2 separate regions of the Homo sapiens genome follow, and region 2 is linked to region 1. The links are contacts of gene promoters, found by promoter capture Hi-C in human tissues and cell types (Jung and others, 2019). All regions are on one chromosome and are shown on one strand. The core of a region is centred on a gene start or on the middle of the fragment in contact, and the rest is flanking DNA. Distances in the headings are between cores, read along the strand shown. Region 1 holds the start of FGF20 (fibroblast growth factor 20). Region 2 has its middle 39 kb from the start of FGF20.

Region 1 (5,819 bases), core at 1-2,500:
GAGGGAACCTCAGACAGGTGAGCCCTACAGGTAGCGAATGTGCCCACGGAAAGTTAATCTGCTACCTCTTCAGGTGAACATTTGCAAGTCTCTAGGTAGACACGTAAATGCTCGCAATCCATGCCCAGAGCAGCCCCGGGTGCATAATCAGCTGCATAACTGTGGGGCATGTTTAAAGAAGCCCGGCGCTTCCTGTTATTAATTTTTGTAAAGTGGACGGCATGGGGGAAAATGAGAAAGGAAATCGGAGAGAAACATACAGGGATTTTTTTTAAAACTGACTGCGAGGTAAGCAGTGCGAGAACCGTGATGCCGAGTGCACCAGGTCTTGGTGTCCCCGGCAGTGGGAAGGGCAAGGGGAAGGCAGGAAGGAGCTTGCGAAGCGCCCACCCTTTCTCCTCCCGCCCCCAGCATCTGGAGCTGCTGCCCTGCTAGAGGCTGCGGCGACAAACCAGCAGGAAAATTTCTCCCCGCGGCTGCTCTGGCCAGCCCTTCAGCCCCAGCCTGCGTCTTGCACCGGATGGGTCCAGGGGAGCTCCGGGCTCCGCGCGGCGATGACGCCCTTGGCAGGCAAAGAGGGAGGTGCAAGGGGAGGGAACGAGGAGCCGAGCTGGGGCGCAGATGGGGGTGGGGTCGGGATGCTAGTACGTACCGAAGAGGCTGTGGTCCTGCCGGGTGCCCTGCACGCTGCCGTCGGGCAGGATCTGCAGGTGGAAGCCGGTGCGGCAATAGAGCTGCCGGCGGCGCAGGATGCCGTGCAGGTGCGCCAGCTGCGCAGCCCCCGGCCCGCCGCGCGCGCTCCGCTCCGCCGCGCTCCTGCGCTCGCCCAGCAGCGGCGGCCGCTCCCCGGCAGGAGGCAACAGGAAATGCGAACCCACCTGCTGGCCCAAGCCCTCCAGGCCGCCCAGAAAGCCCCCGACTTCGGCTAAGGGAGCCATGGAGGGGGAGATCCGGAACACAAAAGACCCCCCCAGTAAAGAGTGTTGTGGGGGTGGGATGGAGGTGGATAGAGAAAAATTATAGCAAAACGAGCGCAAAAAGTTAAGGCCCGGTTACTCCTCTGAGGTCGCTCCGGAGGGACTTTGCACTGAAATGGCAGGGAAGCTCTCACTGTCTTGGAGCGATCTTCTCTCCTTGGGTAGGTGGGAGCCGGCTGCTGGCTCTGCAGAAATATCTATAGCTGCCGCTGCCAATACTAGGACTAGGGCTGTTGGCTGGGGCTCCAATTCCGCAAACTGATCAGATCAGAGTCCTGTGTACATACACACCGAGTATATAAGCGGGTCCTCTTGACATATGCTAATCAAGTCCTTTCATGCGCGCTGGGGAGGTTCTGTTTGAAATCTTAAACCGGTCTCCTCTCAACACGTTTTTGCTCTTCGGAAGTGACCAAAAGGGGCCCTTGGCACTTCTCCATCCATGCCCTCACAAAAACCATTCCTGCACTTGGCCAAAGCCAGCCAGCAACTTCGAGGAGGTGCAGTCGAGGCCCCTCTTTGGGGTTGTCCTTGGGACAGCGGTGATGCTGTTCAGCTGCGGCCGTGCAACCGTCTTTGATGTGAGCTTTGCAGTGATAAATCGCCTCTAAAAGGAGCCCAACTTGGCAGGGATATAGAAGAAGAGGAAGGGAGGAGGGAGGGAAGGCGGGGAGGGAGAGAAAGAGAAGGAGGGCATTGGTAGGAGGAGGAAAGAGAAAAGGAGAATTGGACTCCTTGGGAGCCTGCAGTGGACAGGTGCAAAGAAAGGTAAGCAAGGGAGAAGGAAAAAGGGCGTTACCTGGGGCTTACAGACCTGCCCAGACACACATGAAAGAAAAATCAAAGCTTTGACAGTTTAACTCACTAATTTTAAAACACTAATAAAATGTACAAGCATTGCTCCTTTCTTTTATCATTTAGATGGGGGATTTTCTTTACATAATCAAGGTTAGGTAAGGAACACCCTCCCTCCCCCTCTTTACAATTTCTCTTTAATGTTTACCTTTACTCAGCACATAATATAACCAAAATTGCCATATATATATATACATAATACACATATGTATTTTTAATTGTGTGCTAAGGTCATGAACTTCTAATTAGTGTAAAATAAAGCAAAATATAATCACGAATCAAAGGATTTACAGTAAATCCAAATAGGCTGGAAAGAAATGATTTGCATCTCTATATTTTGCCGTGAATAGAAAATGAATATCTGGAATATTGTCATAAATGATGAGTGGCTTCTTGGGCCCTTATACAATCTAAGAGCACTTTCCTGTTTTTCTTAGTTGCGTTTTTCTAAAAGCTAGATGTTTTTGTTTACATTTTAATTATAAAATCTAAAAATAACTAAATGGAAATAGTCTTGAGGCTTGATGTGTTTTGAGACTTCAAAAGTTACTGGTAAAATTGAAGAGTGCTTGAGCATATTTGTAAAATCAAAAACCATGGAAGCCAAGGAATTAGATACATGTTCATTTAAACGTTGAAACTGGTTTTGCACCACTAGTTAAATTCAAGATCTTTCTGTTAAAATTTTTCAGTGGTAGAAGAATTGAGAATCATTGGGCAGATTTATGCTTCCTCTGAGCAAAAAGTTTTAGGGAACTGATGAAGATTACTTTCTCAGTCTTGTTTCATGATCTGTTTAAAAAAAGCATAAGCCTGGCAGCTCAGTTGGATTTGACTGGTTTATTTTATTTGCTCTGAAGGATTTTTTCTAATTAATTGGCAGGTGCTCTAAAGTGGGTATAGTTACACATTTTCATCACTACAGGCCTAACTACTGACCCTTGTGTAACCAAGTTATAAAAGAGTTCTTAAAGCAAGTGATTTACTGTTGATAGATATGAAATAAAACAAAAACGCTGGCTAAAAACAATAAACAGATAAATCACTTTAGAAACGTATATTGCTAAGTCTGTTTTAAAGGTTGCACCAGGTAAATGTTGTATTATTTCACCTTTCAAATAACAGCAGTCTGTCTTGTGGTAGGACCCCAAATCCACCATAATCAAGGTTTCAAACACATCTGTGTAAACATTATCACATCAGTGTAAAACATCAACCAATGAGCTTTTACTTTGAACCAAATCTTCTTAATTGCAGTGTTAAATCAAAGAAACTTAGATCAAAGTTGTGTGAATCTCGTAGCAGGATAACTGAAGTAGCCAGTACATCCACTGATCACTTTTAAAGAGGAGATACTTAAGGGTTTTAAACTTAGATCAAGTGCCTTTTAATGAGGTTTGTTTCAAGGTCCAAGTTCTGTGCAACATATAATGCTGTTAATTATTCCACAATGGAAATATATTATCATCACCTGCTTCTAAAAGTACTAGTTCAGTCTACAAACTATTTTCCCACATGAACACTTTAGTCCTGCTGTATGAGCTATAGCTGTTAGACTGTTCAAATCTGTTGTATTGCTTATATATATACAAAAAATGGGGAATTTCTTATTCATAGTCATGAAAGTTTAAATACTTTCATAATAGAATCGCCTTCTCTTTGTACACCTTGGTATTTACATGTGTATTACCTTATTTGATCACCACAATGACCATAAGACATAGGCACATCCTGCTTTATAGCGAAAAAATATGGTCCTAAATCCCCGTTTTGCCCAGAGTCCAACATCCCAGGCCAATTTCCTTAAATTCTCTAAATGCTTTTATTTTCTCTTTTGTAAAATAAGGATAATATAACTCCAGCCTAACTACTATGCCTAGAGTTGCCATGAGACTTAAATGTAAAAATATATTGGAAAATGGTTTTAAAACTATAGTTTTCTATGCATAGAATATGCTAGAAAACTCTAGTTGTTGTGAAAATTTTTGCTTTCTAACTTAACAAATATAATTGGTCTGAAATACAAAATAAATCTTTTTTTCCCAAACCAAACCTTTAATGTGTAAGTTTGAATGGTGCTTAATGCTGTTTTATAAAGGACCAGACTAGAAACAAAAAGATAAGAATTTCTTTTGTTTGCACTAGTCATGTGACAGGAAAAGATAACACTAAAGATTTTTTTTTTTTGCACATGCTGTGATGATATCATGGGAAGTTAAATAATTTTGAAGAGTGTTTTACAAGAGTGCATTATTCAACTTTTAAGTATACATTGCAATCTAATCAACTTTACCTATGCTTCCTAGAGACCACACTTGCCTTGCTGTTATACAAATACGTGGTACAACTTCTACTTCCACAAAATGTAGTTTGAGTTTTCCAGACTATATAATCCCTATATAGGTTTTCAGATGATATATTGTCAGGAACCTTTGTTTTTACACATGAGGAGTTCATACCTTTTGAGGCTGCTACATGTGTTCAATATGAGAAAAAGAAATAGAGCTGATTTAATGGTCATGATATACATCTCCAATAAAGTAAGAGTATATTTGCACATTATTCATTATTTATAATTACAAAATATTAGCAACAACATAAATTTCTATACACAGGAAACTGAATAAATTATGGTACATTCACACAATGGAGCATTATACAGCTGACAAAGATGTCTGTGAACGAACATGGAATATTTGCAGGATACACCGTTAAGTGAAAACAGCAAAGAATATATATAGTGTCTGCCTTTTCTGTAAGAAAGAAAAAAATGAGAAACGTCTACATGTATATGCTTATTTATTCTAAAAATAAACACAGAATGGATAAACCAAAAATTAATGAACTTGGTTACCTGGTTAGTTGGTTAGCAGGGGATGGATATGAATGGAGTGGAAGGGTTGGAGGAGTGACATTCATCTGAGAACTTTTTATAGAGTTTTGACTTTTGGAGAAATGTTAATGTTTTACATTTTTTTAAAGTAAAATAAAATAAAATAAATGAGAGAGAAGTGGGGATGGAATAAAAGCAGGAACAAATGAACCTAACTGTATTAAAGTGAGTAATATAACCACACATGAGGGATGAATAACATATTAAAAAAAAGAAAGAAAGAAACTCAAATAACTATCAAATTCTGTCTTTTGATGATATAACCAAGATCTAAAGAAAAACCACATAAACAAATCTTGAACTTCAATGAGAAAGATTGTTTTCCTCAGTAGCAGGGGTTAGAGTAGTGTATTGTAGAATTGAACAAATGAATAAATATATTGAAGCTAATGAGAGCTAGGGGTTTCATTATTAAAGAATAGAGTTCTAATATGAAAAGAAGGAAGACTGGAATGAACCTTGTAGTGTGAAATTGGAATTGCCGCTATCAGTATTAACACTTGGTGCCTGTGTGTGTGTGTATGTTCATGTGTATGTGCATATCTTAGCCCTGTGCACTAAAAGGGCCTAGAAGCAAACATATCCCAAGTCAATGAGCATATCTAGCATCTAAGCCTTGGTTTCTCAATTCAAACTCCTACTAAAATGATCAATGGAACCTTGGAGAAATGTCTGGTTCCAGGACTGGGGCATTATTTTGTGTGCCAGAAGGCAAGGAAGTACTAAAAAAAAAAAAAAAAAAAAAAAGAATAAGGACATGTCCAGGGGACATAAGCCAAATCTGGGACAATTTGAGCATCAAAATAAATAATGATAGGAACAAGTTATTTATGAAATAAATAAGAACATGTGAGTGCAACTGTTGAAGTACACAAACTACCAATCAAACAAGTTAATAAGGGAGAAGGGAAAACTTTTTCTCATGGCAGAATACCAACTAATAAATATTGAAAGAATGATGGAATTAGAAAAATGACCACTTTACATCCATCCTAGGGTCATTGCTGGTCCAGACAAAAACATAAATGCATCCTAAAACTTGTGGATAAAAGTTTGATGAAGAAGAATCTTTATTACAAAGGGAAAAGAGTAAC
Region 2 (5,819 bases), core at 1,542-4,041, 40 kb before region 1:
AGGTGCACAAGCTTCTTTAAGGAATCTGAGCACTCCGATACCACTGAAAGAACAGGGGTTCCATTAGTATTGGGGAAATAGCCACGGGTAAAAAAAAATAGTATTCACCCCACTTGTCTTACATCTTTTCTCCTGCTGCTCATCTTGCTTTCACTCTTCCACTCACTTCAAAATAACATCTGTCCCTCTTGTTCTTGAAGTCCGCCATTGACTCCCACGTAGCCAAATGCGATTAATAGTTTTTTAGCTCTCATCTTCTTTGACCTTCCAGTAGCATACAACACAGTTGATTACTCACTCCTAGAAATACTCTTTTGATCTGTGTGATGCAAAACTTTCCTGATTTTCTTCTTATCTAGCATCTCCTTCCCTCTCTTTAAATTATCTTTCTCTTCCATCTGACCTCATGTAACTCAGAACTTTCATTTTTTTCTCCCTAGCATCTATATGCCAATAATTCCAAAATTATATCTCTAGCCTACATTTCCAGACCCATATATATCCAATTCCTTACTTGACCTAGTCACTTGATCATCTCACTCATATCAAAAAATGAACATTTCAAAACTGAACTTGTTATTTTCTACACAATTTTTATCCTCCAGTCTCATATTATTTTAATAAATGAGACTCCCTCTCTCTCTCTCTGTCTCTCTCTGTCTCACACACACACACAAACACACACACACACACACACACACACACATCTATTTACTCGAGCCAAAAATCTGGGCATAGCTTGATACAGCTCTCTCTTATCCCTACCTTTAATGTATCACTAAGATCCACTAATTTTACCGTCAAAATACCCCAAGTCCACCCATTACTCTCCCTTCTCATAGCCAACATGCCAGTCCAAACTGTTGCAACTCTTTCACCTAGGCTAACGCAATTTTCTCCAAACAATTTCTATTTTCTTCCACTTTTACCTCAGTCTAACCCAATGTTTATTTTGCAGCCAATGTGTTTTTTGGGGTTTTGTTGTTGTTATTGTTTTTGTTTTTGTTGTTTGAGATACAGTCTGGCTCTTTTGCCCAGGCTGAAATACAGTGGCGTGATCTCCGCTCACTGCAACCCAGAACTTCTGAGTTCAATGAGTTCTCCTGCCTCAGCCTCCCAAGTAGCTGAGACTACAGGCATGCACCACCATGCCCAGCTAACTTTTGTATTTTTTTTTATAGGGATGGAGTTTCACCATGTTGCCCAGGCTGGTTTTGAACTCCTGGGCTCAAGCGATCCTCCTACCTCAGCCTCCCAAAGTGCTGGGTTTACAGGGATGAGCCACAGATCCTGCACCAATGTGGTCTTTTAAATGTATAGATGAAATGGTGTCACTCTCCTGCTTAAAATCCTTCTATGACTTTCCATTGCACTAAAAAGAGACTCAAATAACTCACTGTGGCCCATAGGGGTTGTCATGATATGGCCCGTCCATGTCAATCTCTTCAATTTCATCTCATGCTATGCTGGCCCCACTACCTATTTAGCCATCTGGCCTTCTTTTAGTTTTTGGAACATGTCACACTGTTTTCCAACTGCAAGATCTTTATCATCCTATCGTCTAGATCGCTGTCTATACACACCCTGCCTCCCACATCCAAACTGCACAAACTCTGTTTTCAACTCCTATTCATTCTTCAGAAAGATCTTTTCTTTCCTTTTCTGATTGTCTCAACTAAAGGAGACGCCTCTGTGATCTTTCTTTTCTTTTTTTTTTTTTTTTTTTTTTTTGAGATGGAGTTTTGCTCTTGTTGCCCAGGGTGGAGTGCAATGGCACAATCTTGGCTCGCTGCAACATCTGCCTCCCAGGTTCAAGTGATTCTCCTACCTCAGTCTCCACAGTAGCTGGGATTACAGGCATGCGCCACCACACCTGGCTAATTTTTTGTATTTTAATAGAGATGGGGTTTCTCCATGTTGGTTAGGCTGGTCTCGAACTCCTGACCTCAGGTGATCTGCCCTCCTCGGCCTCCCAAAGTTCTTCTATTAGAGGTGTGAGCCACCTCGCTCAGCTGATCTTTCTTACAGTCTTGTTCTTTTCCTTCATAGCACTGACCACAAACTGCAATTTTAAAATTTATTTTAATTTTACAAATAAATTACAAATGTGTAATTATTAAAATCTTTTCCAGGCCAGTGCTGGTGGCCCATGTATGTAATCCCAGAACTTCGGGAAGCCAAGGCAAGAGGATCACTTAAAGCAACCCACAACCCACGGGCTGCATGCATCCCGGGACGGCTTTGAATAAAGCCCAGGACAGCTTTGAATGCGGCCCAACACAAATTCATAAACTTTCTTAAAACATTATGAGATTTTTTTGCGATTTTCTTTTTTTAGCTCACCAGCTATCATTCGTTTGTTCTATGTGTGGCCCAAGACAATTCTTCTTCCAATGTGGCCCAGGGAAGCCAAAAGATTGGACACCCTGGCTTAAAGCCAGGACTTCAAGACCAGCCTAGGCAACAAAACAGAGACCCCATTTCAACAAATCACTTTTAAAATTTAGCTTGGTGGTGTGTACCTGTAGTACCAGCTATTACCTACTCAGGAGGCTGAGGTGGAAGGATTGCTTGAGTCCAGGAGATCAAGCCTGCAGTAAGCCATGATCTTGCCATTGCTCTCCAGCTTGAGTGAAAGCATGAGACTACCTCTTAAAAAAAATATATATGTTTTTGCTACCTGGTTAAAACCAGGTGTAATTTAGAGTATATGTTAATTTAATTACCTACATGTATTTATTCTTTACTAGATGCTTGAAACCCATCTCCCTTTGGTGTTATCACTGTAAGCACACATACACATATACATACACATACACATGTACACATACACAAACACATGTACACATACACAGAAACACACGAGGATGCAGAAGTCTCCCTATAATTTAGCGAACTCGTGAAATTATAAAATTTCGTATACATCACCATGGTATCATAACTGCCACTTTAATCCAACAACATTCAGTCCTTGCTAAAAGTTATTTCATTCTTACAAAGAAATAGATCTAAGAAAAGAAATATAAATTCAGTTACATTCAGTTTCAAGTTTCACTGTCAACGGTGAATCAGAAATCTTTAATATGACTAAATCTGGTATATTTGAATAAGTATATGCCAATAAAATACCTATAGGTCTTTATGGACCTCTGTCTTGTTCTTGATTTTAATTTATTAGAATGTATCAATTGACCTACATCAATTATTTTATGGGAAATATTATCAGTAAGATTTTTATCTTTAACATCCCAAATAGGAAATCCCCACTAGTGTAATAAATAATGTATTTGGCAGGGAATTGGCAAGCCATCTCAATCAGAAAACTTCCTGGCTGACAATCACACAAAATTGAGACCACAAAGCATATCTTAAATGTTTCAGCACTTGGATTTTCCTAAATACTTCTTTTAAGTTCTTTCTGAACAAGTTGCACAGAGATCAAAACATGCTAATTTCATCATTGCTAGCCAAAATCATAAAAGAACCGTATAAAAGCATATGGATACACTTACTAACTTATAAACAAAAAACTGTTTCATGGTTTTATTGAACAGTCCATAAAAGATTTTCCTCATTTGTAAAATGAAGAGATTGAACGAGATGATAGCTAAGATGTCCTCAAGCTCGAAAAATTCTAATATTTGTGATTTTAGAATAAATACTTCATATTTTTCTTTTCTAACAAGGAAAAGTAACAGTATATGTTATTCCCATGTTTTACCATTTTGGTGTAGTAGGAGACCTGGGGTCATTTTTGCCTCTCTGAGGAGTGGAAATACAAAAGGGTAACTCATTACCCCTTCTTAGCTTAAAAAGGAAGCCAGTTTGAAGGACTTTTACTATCCCTCTATGCTATTCTTCTGTATTTCCCTCTCAACTCCAATTTTAGTAAACATATATACACATACTCTAACACCAGCCCTACCACCACCACCAGGATTCCCATTATGGACATAAGCAACTCGTCTATTAAGGACAGCAGATAGTATCCTCCAGAAACTACAGAGTAAACACAGCCCTCCCCAGAATCCATATCAGGTGTCTCACCTGACAGCTCAGCTAAAGCTTCTGTCCTGTGAAGTCACTTTGCTCAGATCCTTATTCACAGCTCTTGGAAATGGTGCTAAAAGAGTAACAGAGTTAAAATAAAATCAAGCCAAAGACATTTCAGGACTGTTTGTAAGGATCAAGCTGTGCCCTACCGCTTGAGCCATGAGATCCTCTTATATTAGAGATATCAGTGGTTGGGAAAGATATCATGTGGAATTTATGGGAAGTCCCAGTGGGAAAATCACATCACAGGCTCCTGGGATACTAGAGCAAGGTCACATAGCTTGCAATGGAGAATGTACACCTTTTGAAATGCAACTCATGGCGTGTTACTGAGCCATCACACAAATTGAGAGCCAGACTATGGGACACCATGTGACCATGTGGCTAGAATTTTCCATGTTGACCTTAATGCTATCATATCCACCAGCTCAGCTAGGCTCAGCCTGCATGTCATGCACCACTGTTGCGCCAACACCTCTTCCTCATCTCACTCCTATGGCCCAGCAGGGGAATCCCTGAGGACTAGCTGACAGATGATCAAAGTGCCCAAGACTGGTTTACAGACAGGTCAGCTCAGTATGTGGATATAAGGCACTACAGTCTAACTCACAGACAATTATTTCAATTGACAAAGTTTGGGGCAGTACATTTGCCATCCCCTTTGGGTAATAAAAGAAGTAGTCTGAGATTAGAACATATAAGGACTCCTGGGCAGTGGCAAATGGAATGGCTAGCTGGTAAAATCCTAGAAAAAAAGAAAGATTGGAAGATCGAAGACAAAATGGTCTGGCAGAAAGGAATACAGTCGGCCCTCTGTATCTGAGGGTTCTACATCTGTGGATTCAAACAACCTTGGATCAAAAATGTTGAGGGGGAAAAAAATGCCACAACTTTCCAAAAATTAAAATTTGAATTTTGTCATGCAGTGAGTACTAGGTTGAATTCACTCGAATGAAGTAAGGTATAGGCATTGTGTTAGGTATTGTAAATAATCTAGATATGTTTTATAGTATACAGGAAAAAATGTGCGTAGGTTATATGCAAATATTATGCCATTTTATAAAAGAGACTTGAGCATCCACAGATTTTGGTATCTATGGGGGTCCTGGAACAAATCTCCCATGGATACCAAGCCTTACTATATATATGGATAAATAGGAATGGGCATAAAGTGGGAAAATCTTCATATTAAAAGTTAACACCAATCCAAGAGCTCCCACCATGGAAGAGGCACTTAACAAAGAAGTAGATTAAATGCCTCAGCCAGTTGACACTAGCCAGCCTGGCTTTGGCCATTCCAGTGCTGGAAAAACGGACACATTAAAAAGTGGTCATGGTGATAGAGACAGAGGTTAGACATCAGCACAGCAGCATGGGCTGCCACTTTTCCTGATGAATCTCACTTCTGCTGCCTCTGAATGTCCAGTCTGCTAGGAACAAAATCCAATGCCAAGTCCATGATGTGAGATCATTCCTCAAGGATACTGTCTAGCCACTTGACCGCAAGTTGTCTACACTGCTCCCCTTCTATCCTAAAAAGATCTGTGACTGATTCTGATCAATCACAGAAGAAATAGAACTTTTGGGTATGGATTTCCCTTTCTTGCCCACAGAGTGCCTGTTCCACCCACACAGGGTCCCACATACAGCAGAGTAGATATGGGAGCAGGCCCATAACAGAGAAATGCATCAGTAACAACAAGCTCTAACCCATCTAGAAGCTGCTATTCTGATACAATATTGCAATAACCTGGTGACAGGATCAT

Evidence for each region. The method cuts DNA at HindIII sites, captures the fragments that hold promoters and counts their contacts. A contact is called where the count stands out against the background at its distance.
Region 2: a fragment that was not itself captured here is called in contact with the fragment with the promoter of FGF20 in region 1 in 2 of the 25 tissues and cell types used here (pancreas and stomach).

Annotation. Positions count from the first base shown.
Region 1 is chr8:17,001,095-17,006,913 of GRCh38, forward strand. It overlaps FGF20 (fibroblast growth factor 20), which reads right to left and starts at 1,251. Exons shown (of 3, transcript NM_019851.3): 1 at 653-1,251. The coding sequence starts at 938. RefSeq lists a silencer at 768-837. The HindIII fragment of the contact is 12,794 bases long and covers 1-5,819 here.
Region 2 is chr8:16,959,955-16,965,773 of GRCh38, forward strand. No RefSeq gene overlaps it. Among named protein-coding and RNA genes, the nearest start is that of FGF20, 39 kb to the right of the region's middle. The HindIII fragment of the contact is 6,259 bases long and covers 1-5,819 here.